7 separate regions of the Homo sapiens genome follow, and all the other regions are linked to region 2. Evidence: promoter capture Hi-C in 16 types of primary human blood cells and fetal thymus (Javierre and others, 2016). All regions are on one chromosome and are shown on one strand. The core of a region is centred on a gene start or on the middle of the fragment in contact, and the rest is flanking DNA. Distances in the headings are between cores, read along the strand shown.

Region 1 (2,936 bases), core at 412-2,911, 920 kb after region 2:
GATCATTATGACTTCTTGTCTTGGGTTATTTTCATTTTCCACACCAGTTTATCAAATAGATACAGAAAATGTAAACACATGAGTTGCCTACATTTACGTGCAACAACAAAATGATCTTCTGGCAAAAATTGCTTTAAAAACCACCATAACACACAGAACCAGACCGATGCTTTCTCTCCAGCCCCTGGTTGTATTCTGTCATTGCTTAACTTCATCCCAGGTTTACTTGCTCGGTTTAGTGTTCATTTAGGATTCCAACCTGGCTGGGTCTTTTCATGTAGTCAGAAGCTTCGTAGGGCCTTTCTGGGTTCTGCTTCAGGCCACAGAACAGCTTAGACTAGTGGCAAAGCTCTTAACTCACAGGACTCTTTCTGTGTCCGCATTTTCACAGGGGACACTTTCATCTGCCACTGCCATTCTAATTTGCCATCCAGATAGCTGACCTGGAAAGCCGACCCGGAAAGCGCACCCATTGGTGGATTCCAGCTCTCCCGCTAGGCCTCTGGACTTTCTCTTCAGCCTCTTCTCCGTTAGGTTAAAATAGAAGAGTAGACAGAACAAAAAGCCCGGGGGGATGGGGAAGTCAGGGGCCCTGCTTTCTATCTCAGGGATGTGTCCTCTGATCAGGACGTGGCTACCTGGGTGACAGGAGTCAGTCTTCAGGCCTTTGAAGAAGCCCCCTAGTTTGAATGCTAATTTACGCTTCTTCAAAGCTCCCTCATTTTTTTTCTTTTTCTTTTTTTTTTTTTTTTTTGAGACGGAGTCTCGCTCTGTCGCCCAGGCTGGAGTGCAGTGGCATGATCTCGGCTCACTGCAACCTCCGCTTCCCGGGTTCACGCCATTCTCCTGCCTCAGCCTCCCGAGTAGATGGGACTACAGGCGCCCGCCATCACGCCTGGCTAATTTTTTGTATTTTTAGTAGAGATGGGGTTTCCCCGTGTTAGCCAGGATGGTCTCAATCTCCTGACCTCGTGAGCCGCTCACCTCGGCCTCCCAAAGTGCTGGGATTACAGGCGTGAGCCACTGCGCTCAGCCTCTTTTTTTTTTTTTTTTTAACAAGGTGAGTCAGCTTGGATTTAAAGGGACTTTGTCCTTTGTTGGCCTTTGAATGGTTTCAAAGCATGATCTGATGGAAGCAAAACCCAATTCTGAAGTAGTTTTCTCCAAGAGTCTTCTGGGAAGCCGACTACCTAGGCCTAGGTCTTGGCAAGGGCAGGCTGTGGGGTAACTTGGGAGCTTCCCGCATCACTGTGGAGTTGGTCCCTGGCTGCTAGGGAGGGATCATCTCCTTCCCAGGAATGTGCTGGGGGGAGCTGCAAAGTGTCCTGAAGGGTCTGGACAGCCTAGGAATTTCTGTCCCACCTCCACAAGGTGTTATATCCCTAGACCTCAGTCTCTTCTCCTCTGTAAAATGAAGGGCTTTCATTTTTGCCATATTATTACCACCCCATGTACTATTATTTGGTTTCATGTTGTCTAATGGACTCATTTTTGTTTACTTGAATACACATAAAAAGGAAATGACGTCTCCTCTATAAATGGAGAAATGGCAGCACTCTCCATAAATAGAATGGATCAGGGCCAACCAGGCACAGGACCTTGAGTCTGTTGGCTTTTCGGGGACCAATGGAAATGTTATAATTGTAATTTCTTTTCAAATTAGGAGGAAAAAAATAAATATAATAGCAATGCATAAATAATAAGGCCTGGTGTGGTGGCTCACACCTGTAATCCCAGCACTTTGGGAGGCCAAGGGCATGGATCACTTGAGGTCAGGAGTTTGAGATCAGCCTGGCCAACATGGTGAAACCCTGTCTCTACTAAAAATACAAAAATTAGCCAGACATTGTGGTGGGCACCTGTAATCTCAGCTACTCAGGAGGCTGAGGCATGAGAATTGCTTGGACCTGGGAGGTGAAGGTCGCAGTGAGCCGAGATCATGCTGCTGCACTCCAGCCGGGGCAACAGAGTGAGACTTTGTCTCAAAAAAAAAAAACCAGAAAAAAAAACGCCGGGCATGGTGGCTCACGCCTGTAATCCTAGCACTTTGGGAGGCTGAGGCGGGTGGATCACTTGAAGTCAGGAGTTCAAAACCAGCCTGGCCAACATGGTGAAGCCCCGTCTCTACTAAAAATACAAAAAATTAGCCGGGCGTGATGGTGGACGCCTGTAATCTCAGCTACTCGGGAGGCTGAGGCAGGAGAATCGCTTGAACCCAGGAGGCGGAGGTTGCAGTGACCTGAGATCGCACCACTGCACTCCAGCCTGGGTGACAGAGCGAGACTGTCTAAAATAGTAATAATAATAATAATGAATCTAGCCAGGATTATATTCTTATTTATACCAATGCAATCATAAGGTATAATTTAAAAAAAGTTTTTTGGCTGGGCACGGTGGTTTATGCCTGTAATCCCAGCACTTTGGGAGGCCGAGGCCGGCGGGTCACCTGAGGTCAGGAGTTTGAGACCAGCCTGGCCAATATGGTGAAACCTCGTCTCTACTAAAAATACAAAAATTAGCTGAGGGTGGTGATGCACGCCTGTAATCTCAGCTACTCAGGATAGTTGGCTGAGGCAGGAGAATCGCTTGGACCCAGGAGACGGAGGTTGCAGCAAGCTGAGATCACACCACTGCACTCCAGACTGGGCAACAGAGTGAGACTCCATCTCAAAAAAAAATTTTTCTTTTTAGGCAGGGTCTCACTCTGTTGCTCAGGCTGGAGTGCAGTAGCACAATCACAGCTTACTGCAGCCTCGACCTCCTGGGCTCAAGCAATCCTCTTGCCTCAGCCTCCTGAGTAGCTGAGACTACAGGCACATGCCACCACACACGGTTAGTTTTTAAATTTTTTTTTTTTAGAGATAGGGTCTCACTATGGAGAAAGAGATACACCAAGGCGAAAGTGCTTAGGGCCCATGAAAGTCCAAATGCAGCCC
Region 2 (2,935 bases), core at 117-2,616:
TAATTCCTGTTTTCTCCTTTTTCCTCCTCTCTTCTCACATTTTCTCCCTCACTTCTTCTGAGTCTGCTCCCACTCACTCTGCTACTAGGAGTGGGGAAAGCCTGTGAACACCTCAGGTTGAGGAACAAAAATAGGAGAGAAAGAATGCTCTAAAATGAGGACAGAAACCTGTCTCCAGGCCTGACCATCTGCAAACTCACTGTTACTCCTGAATATTTTTCATATGACAAGTCTAAGCTAATATTTTGGCCCAAAGCACAAACCTGGTAGACAAGAGGATGATAGGATGTTTGTTGTGGGATTAAAGAGCATGAAAAATATTTCCATACTTTCCTATTGATGTTCTGTTTGATTCACCAAATATTTACATACATGTGTGAGGGGCCATGGTAAGGAGAGTGGACCAGAGGGGATGAAGATAGTTACTGTCCCAAGGGGCTTAGAGCTAGGTGAAGAGTGAGTGGTTGCCCAGCTAATTGTGCAATAATCAGCCAAGACTCAAGTGCTTTGAGGAGGGAGAGAAAGGAGGACTTAACTGGAATTAGGGTCTACAGCAAAGACTTCTGATAAGGGGTGAAAAAAGACATATGCATATACACAGATACACAAAGCCATTTGTATATATCAAATTTATAGTTTTATATTAAATATATATAAATACATACTCATATTTACATATACCATACTCCCTTTCAGTTGAACTACTGTTGAGGGATTAATTTATAAAGGCTTCAAAAGTTGTGGTTAAGATCTTTGGATTTAGTATCAAACAGACCTTGAGGGCACCACCTTGTCCTGCCAACACCTTGATTTTGGCCCAGTGAAACTGATTTGAGGCTTCTGGCCTCCAGAATTTTGAGAGAATAAACTTGTGTTGTTTTAAGGAAAAATAAATTTAGAAAATCTTTAGTGAGGCTATATTATTGGAAGTAGAATGTGGAAGACAATAAGTGATGGATGTTTTTATTTTTAATAATTAAATACATACAATCTTATATCCACATCATAATTTGTATTTATATGATGTAAATGTGTTAAAGAATTCAAGATGAATGTATGAACTTTAGATTCAGAAATATAAAGGGGTGAACTTTGATTCTGACCCCTAGATAGGCTATCTTGCTCAATATTCAGCTCCCTGAGCCTTAACTTCCTTATCTGTAAGATGGGCATAATAGCACCTATCTCATATGAATTAAAAGCTATAATATAACAGAGGGTTCTAGGATGAGTGTTACACACAGTACATTCTCTCTATACATTAGTTTTCTCCTTTTTTATCATTCCATCCTCCCTTCTCATACTTTCATTGGAATTTTGTTGACGCCTCTTCTTTAATCACCAGGCTAATTCAAGCTGGCCACAATGGAGAATAGCACAGAAGTGACAGAGTTTATCCTCTTGGGATTAACAGATGACCCCAATCTTCAGATACCCCTCCTCCTGGCATTTTTATTCATCTACCTCATCACCCTGCTTGGGAATGGGGGAATGATGGTGATCATCCACTCAGACTCCCATCTCCACACTCCAATGTACTTTTTCCTCAGTAACCTCTCCCTTGTAGACTTGGGTTACTCATCAGCTGTAGCCCCCAAAACGGTGGCTGCATTGCGGTCAGGGGACAAGGCCATCTCCTACGATGGATGTGCAGCTCAGTTCTTCTTCTTTGTGGGGTTTGCCACTGTTGAGTGCTACCTCCTGGCCTCCATGGCCTATGATCGCCATGCAGCGGTATGTAGGCCTCTTCATTACACCACCACCATGACAGCAGGTGTGTGTGCCCTCCTTGCTACTGGTTCCTATGTCTCTGGCTTCCTCAATGCCTCTATCCATGCAGCAGGCACCTTCAGACTCTCCTTCTGTGGTTCTAATGAGATTAATCATTTCTTCTGTGACATTCCCCCACTCCTGGCTCTCTCATGCTCTGACACACGCATCAGCAAGTTGGTGGTCTTTGTGGCAGGCTTCAACGTCTTTTTCACCCTCCTGGTCATCCTTATTTCTTACTTCTTCATATGCATCACCATTCAGAGGATGCATTCTGCTGAAGGGCAGAAGAAAGTCTTCTCCACCTGTGCTTCCCATCTCACTGCTTTGTCCATCTTCTATGGCACAATCATCTTCATGTACTTACAGCCCAACTCCAGCCAGTCCGTGGACACAGACAAAATAGCCTCTGTGTTTTACACAGTGGTGATTCCCATGCTGAATCCCTTGATATACAGCCTTAGGAACAAAGAAGTGAAAAGTGCTCTCTGGAAAATACTCAACAAACTTTACCCCCAATATTAAATGTGAATGGGAAGTAGGCAAGCAATTAAGGGATAAACTTTCTCTCACACCTAAATGCCATCATGACTTTTAACGTTTGACTGGTTTCAGTTCTTTCTTCCCCAAGAACAGCGGTTACTTCTGCTATTAGAAGATGTAAAAAGCAGCACGTTGAAAGTCTTACTTAGAAAGATAATCTTATATTTAGTGAACAACAACATGGGACAGTTAAGCTTTTCTTGCTTTAGTTTCTTGACGTGGTTTAAAGCAGAAGATTGAAGCATACAAATGAATGTACCAAATTTTCCTCATCCTGTTTTTAATTGTAAGAATTTTTCATTCACTATTAAACTTGGTGTAAAGATTTCACCTTCATTTTTATCAACTGAACACACAGTATCTTTTTTATTCTTTTGTTCTGCGAGTTTGAAAGTTGGACTTTCTGAGGTAGACAAAGGATGTTTCAATATTTTAAATGATATTTGAGAGAAAGTTGTAATTTAAAGGACAAGGCACTAGATCGAGTCAGGTAGCTGACGATTAAATCTTTCCAACCCCTTACTCTCCCTTCTCTACCCACATTCCTATCCTACTCACTAGTCATGTGCCTTTGTAATTTCCATTCCCTTTTGCTAAATCATTGGGGAAACATTACACCTTG
Region 3 (2,806 bases), core at 1-2,500, 990 kb after region 2:
CCCTTTTATCTGAGGCCTTCTTGGAGCTTTCTGTAGTCATTCTTGTTTTGTTTTTGAGACAGAGTCTTACTCTGTCACCCAGGCTGGAGTGTAGTGGCATGATCTTGGCTCACTGCAGCCTCCATCTCTCCAGCTCAGTGATCCTCCCACTTCAGCCTGCTGGGTAGCTGAGACTGCAGGTGCACACCACCATGCCTGGCTATTTTTTTTTCTTTTTTGTAGAGACGGGGTTTCACCATGTTGTCCAGGTTGGTCTCGAACTCCTGAGCTCAAGCGATCCTCCTGCCTTGGCCTCCCAAAGTTCTGGGATTACAGGCATGAACCACCACACCTGGCCACCAGTATCACTCTTTTTTTAAAAAAATTTTATTTTTATTTTAAGTTCTGGGGTACATGTGCAGAATGTGCAGGTTTGTTACGTAGGTAAATGTATGCCGTGGTGGTTTATTGCACCTATCAACCCATCACCTAGGTATTAAGCTCAGCATGCATTAGCAGCACTCTTAACACACAATTAAACTCACATGTAATGAGATTACTTCTCATTACTCCACACCATAGTAGTCTATTTTACAGATGAGGATACTGAGGCTCAGGGAGGCTGAGAGATTTACCTGGAGTCAATCAATTGTTGATCTGGAAGCATCCGATCACCAGGTCTTCTGAAATAATGACAGCAGCAACAATTAACATTATGCTTACTATGCCAAATGCTATGCTTAGCATTTTACCTGCATCACAATCGCGATTCCTTTGGGCAGTTAGGTAGGTTCCATTTTAACCGAATTTAAAGAGGAGGAAGCTGAGGCTCAGAGAGGTAACTTGCCCTAGGTAACCCAGGGTAGTCAGTTAAAAAGTCAAGACTCAGACCTCGATCTGACTAACTCCAAAGAAACCCGTGCCACTCTGCCTCTCGGAAAACACTGCTTCCAGCTGCACAGTTCAAAACCCCACCCAAGGCGGCCCTGAATCGCGGTCAGTCGGCTTCAGCCGAATCGCACTTTGTTTTGAACAAGGATACAGAGGGCGCTGCCTGATGTTAGTCTGGGGGCTTGGGGGAGAAGATGGGGGTCCAGGGTGGAAATGTAGGTGCTGGGGCTGTGCCAGAGGGAGAGTGTCCGGGACCAGCGGGCGAGTCACGTGCGCGTGAAACTCGACCTAAGGGGAGGGGAAAAGAAGGGAGCCCCCGCCCCCACCTCGGGGCGCAGCTCCGGACGCGTGTAAATACAACTATCAACTCCGCAGATCCACTTCATCCAAGCCCAGCTTCGCAGACCTCTGGCGCCCGGCGGGTTCCCAGTTCCCCCGCTTCTTCCGAGGAGACAGCGGAGGCGAGGCCACCGGGCTGTCAGGCTGAAGCTCCGTGGCCGCCGGGTCCTGCACGCAGAGAAGACCCCAGCGCCGGCGCGGCTCAGGGCTGGGCCCACGGGACTCCGGACGCGCCGCGAAAGCGTTGCGCTCCCGGAGGCGTCCGCAGCTGCTGGCTGCTCATTTGCCGGTGACCGGAGGTGAGCAGCGTGGGCGGGGAGGGGGCGCGCGTAGGGTCTCCGGCTATGCGTCGGCTGAGAGACACCGAGGCCGGCTCCCGCCGACACTGCCAGGCTTCCCAAGGAAAGACCGTTACTTGCGCCCGCGGTCCCGCGGCACAGTGTCCCATCTCGCCAAGCGCGTCCTTCCCTTTTCTTTTCTCTGACCCCTCCGACTCTTCTCTTCCTCCCGGGTCCCCGCTCGCTGCACTTCCTCTGCTTAGAGCTGCGCGTTTGCCAGAGTTCCAGCGGACCTCCTGGAGCGCTTGAACCCAAAGCCCCGTTTCACAGATGAGAATACCGAGTCCCCCTGGAAGAAGTGACTGGTACTTCCTCCCCTCTCTCTGGGTCTTTCTTGCCCTTCTCCTCTCCGCTTTCCTCGGTCTCATCCCAGTTGTCGCTCCCCGCCCCCGCGCCGCCCGCGTTCCCTCTCCTCCCGCCGAGGCTGCAGCGGCCGCGGCGGGGGGAGCTGGGGCTCTTTCCCTCCCTTTGGTAAACACACCCGCCCGCCAGCCCATCCGCCACCGCTGCCCTTATAAAGTCAGCAGCCGCCAGACTTCCTGCCGAAGTCCGAGCCCCCTCCCGGGGCTGGAGGGGGGCAAGCGGGTTCCGAGGTGCAAAGCCTGGTGCCCCGAGCCCTGCGGAGTGAGTGAGGGGCGCGCGGGGGAGGAGGGAACCGAGGAGAGCCCGTCCTGGGTCTCCCTCCACGTGGCAGCTGTTGGCTTGGCCCGAGAGACTGTAGGGTCGTGGGTCACCTGATACGGAAAGGGGGAGGGCTTGCTGTCGCCCGGCCCCAGAGGGAAGGAGAGGTCTTGGAGGGGCAACTGGAAGATGGGGTCGTAGGGTAGCCTTGAACTTGCCCTTCTTCCTGCCAGCTTCTAGGGGTCTTTCCTGGCGCGAGAGTCCGGACATGGGCCCGCGGTGCTTCAGAGCGCGCTCTGCCCCTTGCTGTCCTCTGGGGACCTGGGCAGATGCGGACTTTCTCCCCAGCAGCCCGGCCCTGAGCGCCCTGGCCTGGGTGAGAGAACCCGGCAGCCTGCTAGGAAGCTGCAGCGCGCAGACAGGACCTTCCTTGTTTCCGATAGTGGCTCAGCGGGAGCCCCGTGCCGCGTGCACCTCTGGCACTGCTAGTGCGCGCGGAGCCAGCTCCTTGGCACCGGCTGGGAAGCCCAGGGCTCTATGGGGCCTCCATGAGGGGCTCCTCGCGGGCTGGCCCGAGAGGTCTCGGGTGCCACCATGATGCAGGACCCTTCCCTGGGGCCACTGGGGGGCCCTTCACC
Region 4 (2,700 bases), core at 62-2,561, 830 kb after region 2:
AAAAGGAATTCTGATGTTGAGTCCTCCAATTAAAGACCTCTTCCTATCCAAAGGAAAATGTATGATCTATTTAACTTAGTATGTAAAGTCCTTGACAATTTGGCTCTGGGTTTACCTCCCATCCCTCTGGTCACACCATGCATAACATCCTCTAGCCCCACTAAGTTTGCCATTTCATGGCTACAAGCTTCTGCATGTGCTGTTTCCTCTGCCTAAAAATGCCCTTCCCTCCTATATTCTACTTGGTAAAGTCTTTCCCACCTATTTTCAGCAGCATTTCCCCAATTTATTTGGGCAAAATATGTTCTCATATTTCTTTGTTCTCAATTGTTTGTATTCTCACAGAACCTTGCTCTTGCCTCCATTATAGTCTGCATCACACTGTCATAACTGTCTTAATTCACTGTGGGTATTACTGTACCTAAAAATAGCATCCAACCCATATGCTTTAAATAAATTTCTGCTGAACAAATCACTAAAACTCAAAGATTTGACCCAAAGTGAATCATAGGACTAGAAGTTATGACATATATTCCTAAAGACCCTGACCTGATTTTCATCATCAGAAAATGATAAAAGTATCCCAAAATCCCCGGACTTTAAGGCCCAAGATCAACTGCGTATGCCCAAATCATTATTTTTCATATCCCAAAATCCCAGGACTCTTAAGGCCCAAGATCAACTGTGTATGGCCAACTCATTATTTTTCAAAGGCAGTGTAAGGTGCTTCTAAGAGAGAAGCAGATCTTACCTCGAGGGAAAATCCCTGGGTCCATGAAGGTGGCCATGCTGAAGTTGGCCAACACAAAGAGAAACATAATTGCATTGTAGATGGGCACTGCAGGTGACACATACAGGCTTAGTCCTGGACACCTGCACAGACAATAAAGAAAATGAGGGGTTGCCTCTAATATTTTGGACACGAACCATACATACAAAAATCTGTAAAGACTTAGCCCCTTACCTATAGATAAATCTTGTGTGGTTTACCTTTGCCATCCCAAATTATTATCTTTATCTTTCCCACTAAGTGAGTCTAGTTTCCTATGGGAACTGCTCACTTTAGATAAAAGTACAAGACTCAGAATCTCTCCCATCTTAACCTGTTGCACTAAGGTCTTTGTGCTTCAGATTCATTCCTACCCTGTGGATCTTGCCACATGTTTTGAGATCTGTCCTTATCTCCTTTCTAACCAGACATGAGAACCAGGTACTGACTATGATATCAGCTACACTCCCTTCTCTGGAGCAGCCTGAGGTTTCTGGATCCCAGCTATGTCCCATTGACCTGCACATTGGCCCAAAGCATGGGATACCACCTACCTTTCTAGCCCCCGCCTCCCCCTTGCCAGGGGACTGAACCACATAAGTGCCTAAAGTATCTCCATTGCATTGGATATGCCTGAGAGTTTACTCAACTACAGGCCAGTTCTTAAGGTTGGGAAATTCTTTTAAAACACACAGATGAGAATGGATATCAAGACACAGAAGTAAACCCTTTGATGTCTAAAAATGAAGCAGGAATGGGGGAGGATAGAGACTATCAGACCAAAGAAGCCCTCAATTTTGTAGGAAAAAGAAACTACCCAAACATACCCAGTATTCCACAGCAGTCAACTCAAGATATGCTTTAAGGTAACTTTTCTTGATCAAAAAAACAATTCTCTAGTCCAGAATTAAACTCAGTTTCTTTCAGGATTTGAATCTACGTAGGAATGCTTCAAGAGCTCTTCCTTTCTCTGCTGATTTCCTGGGAGCTGGAAGTTTTGGAAGAACCTGATGTGCTACTTTTTTGTCAGTAGTATCAAACACTCTCGTCTCAGCTCAGGGAGAAGTTCCCACTACCAAGACAGTGGATAAATACTCTAATCTACTTTGTGGCTGAGAACTTAATCTCCAGAATGAGGACAGCATCTGTCCTTGTCCCCTTTATCTGAACCAGTCAAAGCAAAGGAAGAACTCACTGAAGGAAAGGAAGAAGAGGACAGGAGAACAAGACAGCATATGATTCCAGAGAATTAAACCACAGCAGTCTGGGATTCTGTGAAGAAAAGGTATCTGCACCCACCAAAACAAAAAGCACAGCCCTGAGACTGACTCAGAGCAGTTTGGAGGAACTCAGTTCCTTAACGAGATACAAGCAAATCAAGATAAGAGACAAAACTGTCACAAAGCATCTCACAAATCTTTACCACCACCATCTATTTATTCAAATTCCATTCAGCCATTCATTTTGAAAAGTTTTTAGTATTTATTATATGCCAGGCTTTTTAGATAGTAAATATCCATTAGCTGTTTGGTTCTCTTGATATGTCAGTACACAATTAGCAGACAAAATAACGAAGCTGGAGCAAGGGCATCAATTTTAGGGACTAAACAGACCTTCAGTCATAGTTCTATACTATCCTCAAAGAAAGCCCCCCATGGAAGCTTCTTCCTCTGTGAGTTCTTTGGTTCAGAAAAGATGTCTCCATACATTGGCAGGGTTTGGAGTGGAATATAAGCAAAAAGAAGAGTTCCTGCACCGCCTCACCCCAAAGCCTGACCTCCTAGGTTCCTTAAGAAGGAGGGAGAGAAACTGAAAACCAGTCATCCAGGTCAGAGCCCCTCCCTAGTACTAAGTTGTCACTTCAATTTCCGCCTGGGGAAGAAGAGAAAGGGTGACTCACTTGACTCCTACAGCCTGGGAAGATAATTAGA
Region 5 (2,955 bases), core at 60-2,559, 850 kb after region 2:
CAAGTGCAAACCAGGGACACCAAACAGTCATTTGCAAGAGATCAAAAAGAATGGGCTTTCCCAGTTTCTTACCACCTGAAAGCTTAAGTTACACTTTGACTTAGGGCCTAGTTCCAATCAAATAGACAAGGATAGCTGTACTGGAAGGAAAATGAGCTATCTCTGGAAAATGATTAGATATGAAATCTCATTCCAAGATTATCACCAGCCTCTAACTCCCCACAGTAAATCCAGCACTGACAGCAGATTTACCATCTACTTACCTAAGCGCAGAGGAAAGGTGAACTATCATAAGAACTCACAGCCGGGCACAGTGTCTCACACCTGTAATCCCAGCATTTTGGGAGGCCGAGGCAGGCAGATCATGAGGTCAGGAGTTTGAGACCAGCCTGGCCAACATAGTGAAACCCTGTCCCTACTAAAAGAAATACAAAAAATTAGCTGGGCGTGGTGGCGGGCACCTGTAACCCCAGCTATTTGGGAGGCTGAGGCAGGAGAATCACTTGAACCTGGGAGGCAGAGGTTGCAGTGAGCCAAGATCACGCCACTGCACTCCAGCCCAGGTGACAGTGTGAGACTCTTACAAAAACAACCACCACCACCACCAAAAAAAAAAACCTGACGTGGCTCACAGGTAGGTTTCTTGGTTTTCCCCTCCTCCAAGCATTTTAGCAATAAATCATTCCAATTATGTTTCTATAACGCTTAGGGGAAAAAAATAAATTATACCAACTTCTATGATATGGCAAAAATATTTATTAAAATGATTTTTTTTAAGTTTGAACTTTATTGGAAGGAGTCCCTCTAATTCACACTTTCATCCTAGATAAATGGGTAAGAACCACATATGGAATATAAAGCATTGATTTTTTAAAAACCACATAGTAGCACAGTGAAAGAAATGCAATTCTCCAGGGTCTTAGAGAATTCAAAGTGGCATCTTAGGTGGTCTAAGAAACCAATTACAGTCTCATGGTTTTCCTTTTGGTTCAAGATTAGAAGAGTCAGGTTACCACTACCTGTTTTTAGAGGTAGAATATGAACTTTCTACTAGTCCACAGTTTACTGGTCAGGTGGCCCCAACAGTCTTTTATCTCAGCCCATCTGCCTCTAGGGGTGGCCAGATGATCTCTATGTCCCAGGCAGCAAGGCTTCCTGCTGATCTCTACTTCAGATCCATGAACCGGATATCCATGATGAGAAGGAAGTTCTTAGGCAGTGGGCGAGGGGCTGGAGACAGAACAGTAAACACCTGATGCTCCAGGTCCACACTGGTCACCACAATGAAGCCAGCTACACTTGTCTCGGACAGGTTCTCCTCTGTACCCTCGGCAGTGCTAACACTCAGTAGGTGGTGCACCATATCTCGCCCAGGAGTGACAGGTACTAGCTTGAGCTGATTATCCTCTTGAGACATGCCCAAAGGTAAACAGGAGTCTGGGATGGTGGGTGCCCCAACTTTGTAGATTTTCACATCTGAAAATTTGACATTGAAGGCATGGGGATAGAAACAGCCTCGGAATCCATAAAAATACTCACGGATACGCTCATCCCTACATTCCCGCCGGAAGTCCTTGGAGCGCTCCACCACACCCCCAGATTTAGGGAGCAGCACAGTGCGTACAAAGTGGGGGAGGTCCCGTTTCAGTTCATTGTACAGTCGTTCTTGATCCAGAACAACAACGACATCCACCTCAAAAGCTGAGGCTGCATGCACCAGAGCCTGGTAACCAGAGCCCTTGACCCAGCCACAGGTGTTAATGACACAGCCACTCACAGATGCCCTTCGGTTCACCTCACACCTTTGGTTGAACACATCTGCTAAACGAGATGTAATCTGCAAAAGAGAGGATCAAGGTAAGAACAAAAACACCCAGACAAACCCATGGCTACTTTGTTCCTCTTTAGAATAAGTGCTATTAGATATAAGAAAAATGATTTTTTTTTTGAAATGGAGTCTCACTCTGTTGCCCAGGATGGAGTGCAGTGGCACGATCTCAGCTCACTGCAACCTCCACCTCCCGCGTTCAAGTGATTCTCCTGCCTCAGTCTCTGAACAGCTGGGATTACAGGCACCAGCCACCACGCCCAGCTACTTTTTGTATTTTTAGTAGAGACAAGGTTTCACCATGTTGGCCAGGCTGCTCTCCAACTCCTGACCTCAGGTGATCCACCCGTCTCAGCCTCCCAAGTTGTGGGATTACAGGCATGAGCCACTGTACCCAGCCTGAAAAAATGACATTTTTAATGGCTGTAGTTTTGATACCATAACATGGATTTAATTTTTATGTTGCTGCTTCTGCCTCCTGTTTTATGCCCTAAGTGAAAATCTAACAAATTACTAAGAATAGATCCACAGAAATGTTTAACAATCTGAGACTGACATATTTGGAATTGCCTTTCTAAAGTAATGCAGCAGAAATACCAGCTGAGAAAATGCAGTGTTAACTAGTAAACTTCTCCAGTTTCCTACCCTGATAGCAGCCCTTCCCTCCACCCCACCTTTCTCTGGCTCTGACCTTATTATAAAGCTTGATGTTAGTGCCAGGAGTGGTGGAACCAAAATGATACACCAGAGGGGCCTGGATAGAGAAACCCTCTTCGACATCTGCAGGCCGCTCGATGTAGAGGGCCCCCATGGTACCAGGGATGGACACAGAACCCTGGCCCACATCCAGCTCCACATAAGTGGGACGGCGGCCCAAACGCACTGCGTAGTTGAGCAGAAGGCGACACACTGTAGACTTGCCCACATCAGTGGGGCCCACTACCATCACTCGGGGACCTCGCTCTTCTTCCTTTTCCGCTTGCCTCCGCATCTGTTCCAAGGCTGTGTGAGTGTTGAGGTAAAGCAACATAGGAGTGTCCTTGGAGACATAAGCCACCTCAGTGCGGCCGCTCAGTTGCACAGAACAGCCATGCCAAGTGAAAACAGCCACCTTGGCACCAGCATCA
Region 6 (2,802 bases), core at 191-2,690, 880 kb after region 2:
AGGTCCTCAGTGGTGAACTTACCACATTTGCCAGTTAATTAGTGCCAGGGATCTCTTTTTGGTAGCTACAGCTCTTTGGACCCTGGAGAAACTGAAAGAACTAGTCTGGTTTGTGGATTCTTAGGAGAATTTACTGATTTCATAATGTAGCCCTGACCTAATCCCAAACCCCAAGATAAGCCAGGGCAGGACTGTCTCCCACATTACTCCAAAGTGGACATTCTAAGGAAATCTTAGGCAAGAGAAAATCAGTCTTCCACGGCCACATTTCAAAATTTTCCCCACATTTCAATTGTTTTCCCACATCCCCTACACACACTGGGACACTTCATATCACATGGAGAGAAGTGAAGGGAGACATTACCAGTCCATTAAAGTTCAGAGAACAAGAGCTCTGTCTTGTTGAACAGTTTGTCCGCTGCCACAACAGTGCCTAGCACAAGTAAGTACTCAATTAAAACTTGAATAAATGAATGGGAAAATGGCAGAAGTCCTGACCTCAGAGGATCCACCCGCCTTGGCCTCCCAAAGTGCTGGGATTACAGGTGTGAGCCACCACACCTGGCCTCTTAAAAAAAAAAAATAGGACTTTAGGAGGCTGAGGCGTGCGGATCATAAGGTTAGGAGTTCGAGACCAGCCTGGCCAATATGGTGAAACCCCGTCTCTACTAAAAATACGAAAATTAGCTGGGCGTGGTGGTGGGCGCCTGTAGTCCCAGCTATTCGGGAGGCTGAGGCAAGAGAATTGCTTGAATCCAGGAGGCGGAGGTTGCAGTGAGCCGAGATCGCAACACTGCACTCCAACCTGGGCGACAGAGCAAGATTCCATCTCAAAAAAAAAAAAATTAAAATAGCTGGGCATGGTGGTGCGGGCCTGTGGTCCCAGCTACTCAGGAAGCTGAGGTGGGACCTGAGCTTGAGCCCAGGACCTCAAGGCTGCAGTGATCTATGATTGAGGCAGGAGAATAGGGCCTGGAGGCAGAGAACCTAAGGACTTTCTAGAACTAAATCAAATGGAAACACTTCAGCTGTGACAGGAAATATCCTCTTGTTTACATAGGGTGTACACAGAGTAAATGACTTTGTAACTTTCCTTCATCCTCTTCATTTACATAAGGCGTACACCAAGTAACCAATGGAAACCTCGGCTCACTGCAACCTTGGCCTCCCAGGTTCTAGCGATTCTCCTGCTTCAGCCTCTTGAGTAGCTGGGATTACAGGTGTGCACCACCACACCTGACTAATATTTGTATTTTTAGTAGGGATGGGCTTTCTCCATGTTGGCCAGGCTGGTCTTGAACACATGACCTCAGGTGATCCACCCGCCTTGGCCTCCCAAAGTTCTGGGATTACAGGCGTGAGCCACCGCACCTGGCCAGTAGATAATATGTATAAATTAGTGGAAAGCAAGAAGGCCTCTAGGACGATAACAAAGTATAGATTCTCTTTAGACGGCCTATTTGAGTAGATAAGGCAATTCACAGGGCTGTGGCCTTGTTTAATCCTAGAACAATTCCAGACTCCAGGTGCTTACTTACTTAAAGGGTAAGAATCATCTTCACCCCTTCTGACTAAAGCCATGGAGTCCTGATCCCAAGAATCAAAGACACGGGGCAGCAGGGAGGAGGAAAGAACATCCAAACACAGAGGTATAATTCCTCTAGTTGAAAGATAATTTGTAAGGCAAAACCCTAGCTGATAATGACTATGAGAAGCTATGCTTTGGTATTCCTAGCTCCACCAGTCTCCAGAGGAGATACATAAAATAAGAATAACATTAATGTCATCATTGTAAAATAAAAAACTTTGCTTGGCCATGTGCGGTGGCTCACACTTGTAATCCCAGCACTTTGGGAGGCTGAGGCGGGTGGATCATCTGAGGTCAGGAGTTTGAGAGCAGCCTGGCCAACGTAGTGAAACCCCATCTCTACTAAAAATACAAAAAATTAGCCGGGCATGGTGGCAGGTGCCTGTAATCCCAGCTACTTGGGAGGCAGAGGCAGGAGAATTGCTTGAACCCAGGAGGCGGAGCTTGCAGTGAGCCAAGATTGTGCCAACTCCAGCCTGGGCAACAAGTGCAAAACTTTGTCTCTAAACAAAACGAAACAAAACAAAACAAAACTTTGCTCAAATATAGACACTGCACACTTTGAATCAAAAGTGTTTGCTGACCATTTATAGGCATAGGTGGGACCAGAGATGTCCTGAATCAGATTCACAAGGAGTTTCCTAGTGGTTGGAGGGGAAAGCCAAATATTTGTGTACATGCTACTGATTTTACATGGCAGTGTAAGTTCAGCACTATGTCTAAAGATGGAGGAGGTGCTATTGGCTGGGAAAAGCAGAAAACACTGTTGGAGAATTGCACTGGGCTTAGAAGAATGGCAGCATTTAAATGAACAGGATCTGTAGAGACCAGGCTGGTGGCTCATGCCTGTAATCCCAGCACTTTGGGAGGCCAAGGCGGGCAGATCACTTGAGGTCAGGAGTTCGAGACCAGCCTGGCCAACGTGGTGAAACCCTGTCTCTACTAAAAATGCAAAAATTAGTCGGGCGTGGTGGCGTGTGCCTCTAATCCCAGCTACTTGGGAGGCTGAGGCAAGAGAATCACTTGAACCCAGGAGGCCAGAGGTTGCAGTGAGCTAAGATCGTGCCACTGCACTCCAGTCTGGGCAACAGAGCGAAACTCTGTCTCAATAAATAAATAAATAAATAAATAAATAAATAAATAGGATCTGGAAATGCATTTTTGTTCTGTTTTGTTTTGCTTCATTTTATTTTAGCTAATATGTACTGAGTGTC
Region 7 (2,739 bases), core at 41-2,540, 970 kb after region 2:
GACGCCACCACCCACCCCCAGCATTCACAGCCCTACAGCAGTTTACAGCTTATGCTGCGGAGGCCCTGCTTTCTCTTGGTCATTTCTTGCTCCGACCCTTCAGAATAGGTTATTGGCCCCATTAGGGAGCCAATGGGGATTTCAGGCTCAGGGAGTTGAAGTCCCTTGACTAAAGTTATAGGACAAGTGGCCTGGCTCTCTATCTAGAATCCAAGTATCCCAACTTCCACTCCAGAGCTCACATCAAATATATGCTCCCACTAGCTCCGCAGCCCAGTGTCCCTACAAAGGCCCTGGCCCAGAGTGGGGGCACCCCACCAGTTGGGAAGGGCAGTCAGATTCAGCCGAGGAGTTCCTCCCTCTTTCTTCTAGGTGCACAGTAGGCCCTTCATGAAAGTTTCTCTGCCCCCACCTTCCTTTCTTATTCTCTCCTTTCCTTCCTCCTTCCTTCCCCAGGAAGTCTCCAAACCATCCCTGTTTTGTGTCCAAAGCAGCACTGCAGATATCTCCCCTCCCTCTCTCTTCCTGTTTCTTCTGGCAGACCAGGAGGAAAGGGACCCAGGAGCCCAAGATCCAAACTCCCAGTAGTATAAACACTGGATGTTCTGTGGTGCGTCTGCCACCCACTGCAGCCTCATCTGTCATCTGGTTGTCCTAAGGCTTCCACCTTCCCCACTCAGCCAGGGGCCCTCCCTTGGAGAGGCCGACCTCAATTGCTTAGACTAGGGGTATCCAATCTTTTGGCTTCCTTGAGCCACACTGGTAGAAGTAGAAGTGTCTTGGGCCACATGTAAAATACGTTAACACTAACGATAGTGGATGAGCTAAAACAAAAATTGCAAAAAAAAAAAAAATCTCATAATGTTTTAAGAAAGTTTATGAATTCATGTTGGGCTACATTCAAAGCCATCCTGGGCCACAGGTAGCCTGTGGGCTGGACAGGCTTGGCTTAGACAGTCTACCCCCCAACCCAGTTTGACTCTTGAGACTCCCAAGGTCCCCTCCCCTGCTCTGTGGCCTCCTCGTGGATGGCCACTTGCAGTCTGCTCTGTAGGTGCTCTGGTGCAGGGCTGAGACCCCAGGCATCTAAAGAGAGTAGACATTGTGGTGGAGAGAATTAGAAAGGAGCCTGGATTTCTCCAAATGGGGGGCCCTCCTGGGAGGCTCTGGCCCTTGGACAGTGGGAGTGAGAATTGGCAGATGGGGAGGGACCCTTAGAAAGGGTGCCAGGGCTTCTCCTACCTGTGGGGCTTCTGCCTGTGGCTTGGGAGCTGTCTCTTTGCTCCAGCTGAGTGGCCTCACTCCCAGGCTGCCTTTAAGCCCCAGTGGCCTCTAGCCCCCAGCTCTTTGGTCCCGCCTCCCCCCTTCCTCTCCCTCTTCCACCCCACCCCCACTTCAAGAGTCTTGGGCTGCCTGAAGAGCATTGTTTACTGGCCTGTTGGTACAACACTTTACCCTAGACTGGGAGGCTCGGATTTCCCGTGGAAGATCTGACAGGTGGCACCTTTCAATCACGGCACGTCCCTTCCGCCCTGAGCCTGGCAGCATCCGTCCTGTGGTCATCTTTCTCCCCAGTGGACTCTCCTAACCCTAGGGACCTTGACAACCATCTTCAGGACTCATTTAGAGCATGGCCCTGGCCTCCACTGCTCATCCAGAGCCCAGGCGAGGCCTCTTGTGCTCCCTTCACACCCACCCCGCCACGTTCCTTACATAGCCCCTTTCCCTCGTCCTCAGACAAAAGCAGCTGCTTAAGGCTGGGCTAAGGAGGGGGCGAGTAGGGCAGCTGCCAACACAGGGGATGTGTCTTGGGGCTCACAGTTGACTGAGAGATTTGGAGGGGGAGGGGCAGAGAGGGCAAAAGTGATGGGACAAGCTGACGGATCACTGGACGGAGCCTGGAAAATACAAAACTCCTGAGTTCTATTTTGAGCTGAAGTGACAGGTACACAGTAGGCTCTGAACACATTTTTATACTGAACTGACATTTTGCTAAGAAAAAAACAAAACAAGCCTGGGCATGGTGGCTCATGCCTGTAATCCCAGCACTTTGGGCAGCCGAGGCGGGTGGATTGCTTGAAGCCAGGAGTTCAAGAACAGCATGGTCAACAGGGTGAAACCCTGTCTCTACTACAAATACAAAAATTGGCCGGGCTTGGTGGCGCATGCCTGTAATCTCAGCTACTTGGGAGGCTGAGGCACGAGAACTGCTTGAACCTGGGAGGCAGAGGTTGCAGCAAGTCACTGCACTCCAGCTTGGGTGACAGAGACTCCATCTCAAAAAAAAGTCTTCACTTTCTCTGTGTGTTTTACAATCTAAGAAAGGCACTACTTTTGGAGAATGGGTGCAGAGGACACTCCCACGAAGCTTGGGATCCCCCCCAGTCCTCCTACCCCAAGCCCCACCACTGGGCCACACTGGCCTCCTTCCTATTCCTTAAATAAATCCATCCCTTTTCAGACTCAGGACTGGTTTTTCCTTCTACTCTTTGTAAGACTGCCTCCCTCTCATTCTTCTGGACTTAGCTGAAATTTCATTCCCTCAGAGAGGTTTTCCATGACCTTCAATTCCTCTCCCTCATTTCAGCAGTTTTTATTGTCCTCATAATACTAAATCTAAAATTACCTTATTCATTTCCTTATTATCTGACTCTCTCACTAGGCTTTAAGCTCCATGAGGGCAGGGATTTTATCTACCATACTCATGGCTGTATGCCTAGATCCCAGCAGAATTGCCTG

Evidence for each region. Contacts are between HindIII fragments. The CHiCAGO score rates a contact against its expected background, and 5 or more counts as called.
Region 1: a contact is called between a fragment that was not itself captured here and the fragment with the promoter of OR5B21 in region 2, in 1 of 17 cell types (total CD8 T cells). The highest score is 5.8, in total CD8 T cells.
Region 3: the fragment with the promoter of SLC43A1 here is called in contact with the fragment with the promoter of OR5B21 in region 2 in 9 of 17 cell types (megakaryocytes, naive CD8 T cells, activated CD4 T cells and 6 more); the score reaches 13.5 in megakaryocytes.
Region 4: a fragment that was not itself captured here is called in contact with the fragment with the promoter of OR5B21 in region 2 in 4 of 17 cell types (total CD8 T cells, naive CD8 T cells, naive CD4 T cells and 1 more); the score reaches 9.3 in total CD8 T cells.
Region 5: a fragment that was not itself captured here is called in contact with the fragment with the promoter of OR5B21 in region 2 in 2 of 17 cell types (naive CD8 T cells and endothelial precursors); the score reaches 8.0 in naive CD8 T cells.
Region 6: a fragment that was not itself captured here is called in contact with the fragment with the promoter of OR5B21 in region 2 in 1 of 17 cell types (naive CD8 T cells); the score reaches 5.8 in naive CD8 T cells.
Region 7: the fragment with the promoter of SMTNL1 here is called in contact with the fragment with the promoter of OR5B21 in region 2 in 4 of 17 cell types (naive CD8 T cells, naive CD4 T cells, non-activated CD4 T cells and 1 more); the score reaches 9.6 in naive CD8 T cells.

What each region holds. Positions count from the first base shown.
Region 1 is chr11:57,582,075-57,585,010 of GRCh38, reverse strand. No RefSeq gene overlaps it. Among named protein-coding and RNA genes, the nearest start is that of SERPING1, 14 kb to the left of the region's middle. RefSeq lists a silencer at 2,438-2,605. The HindIII fragment of the contact is 2,742 bases long and covers 291-2,936 here.
Region 2 is chr11:58,506,536-58,509,470 of GRCh38, reverse strand. OR5B21 (olfactory receptor family 5 subfamily B member 21) reads left to right here and starts at 1,366. Exons shown (of 1, transcript NM_001005218.3): 1 at 1,366-2,664. The coding sequence starts at 1,366. The coding sequence ends at 2,295. All of the region lies in intron 2 of LOC105369313 (a long non-coding RNA gene), which reads left to right. The HindIII fragment of the contact is 6,996 bases long and covers 1-2,509 here.
Region 3 is chr11:57,514,146-57,516,951 of GRCh38, reverse strand. SLC43A1 (solute carrier family 43 member 1) reads left to right here and starts at 1,250. Exons shown (of 15, transcript NM_003627.6): 1 at 1,250-1,508. RefSeq lists an enhancer at 1,027-1,096. The HindIII fragment of the contact is 5,778 bases long and covers 1-2,806 here.
Region 4 is chr11:57,680,595-57,683,294 of GRCh38, reverse strand. ZDHHC5 (zDHHC palmitoyltransferase 5) reads right to left here. Exons shown (of 12, transcript NM_015457.3): 3 at 752-873. Among named protein-coding and RNA genes, the nearest start is that of ZDHHC5, 14 kb to the right of the region's middle. The HindIII fragment of the contact is 2,243 bases long and covers 190-2,432 here.
Region 5 is chr11:57,659,647-57,662,601 of GRCh38, reverse strand. It overlaps CLP1 (cleavage factor polyribonucleotide kinase subunit 1), which reads right to left. Exons shown (of 3, transcript NM_006831.3): 2 at 2,520-2,955; 3 at 737-1,837. The coding sequence ends at 1,166. Among named protein-coding and RNA genes, the nearest start is that of CLP1, 3.4 kb to the right of the region's middle. The HindIII fragment of the contact is 2,449 bases long and covers 85-2,533 here.
Region 6 is chr11:57,624,460-57,627,261 of GRCh38, reverse strand. No RefSeq gene overlaps it. Among named protein-coding and RNA genes, the nearest start is that of MIR130AHG, 13 kb to the left of the region's middle. The HindIII fragment of the contact is 8,519 bases long and covers 1-2,802 here.
Region 7 is chr11:57,536,146-57,538,884 of GRCh38, reverse strand. SMTNL1 (smoothelin like 1) reads right to left here and starts at 1,290. Exons shown (of 8, transcript NM_001105565.3): 1 at 1,243-1,290. The HindIII fragment of the contact is 14,036 bases long and covers 1-2,370 here.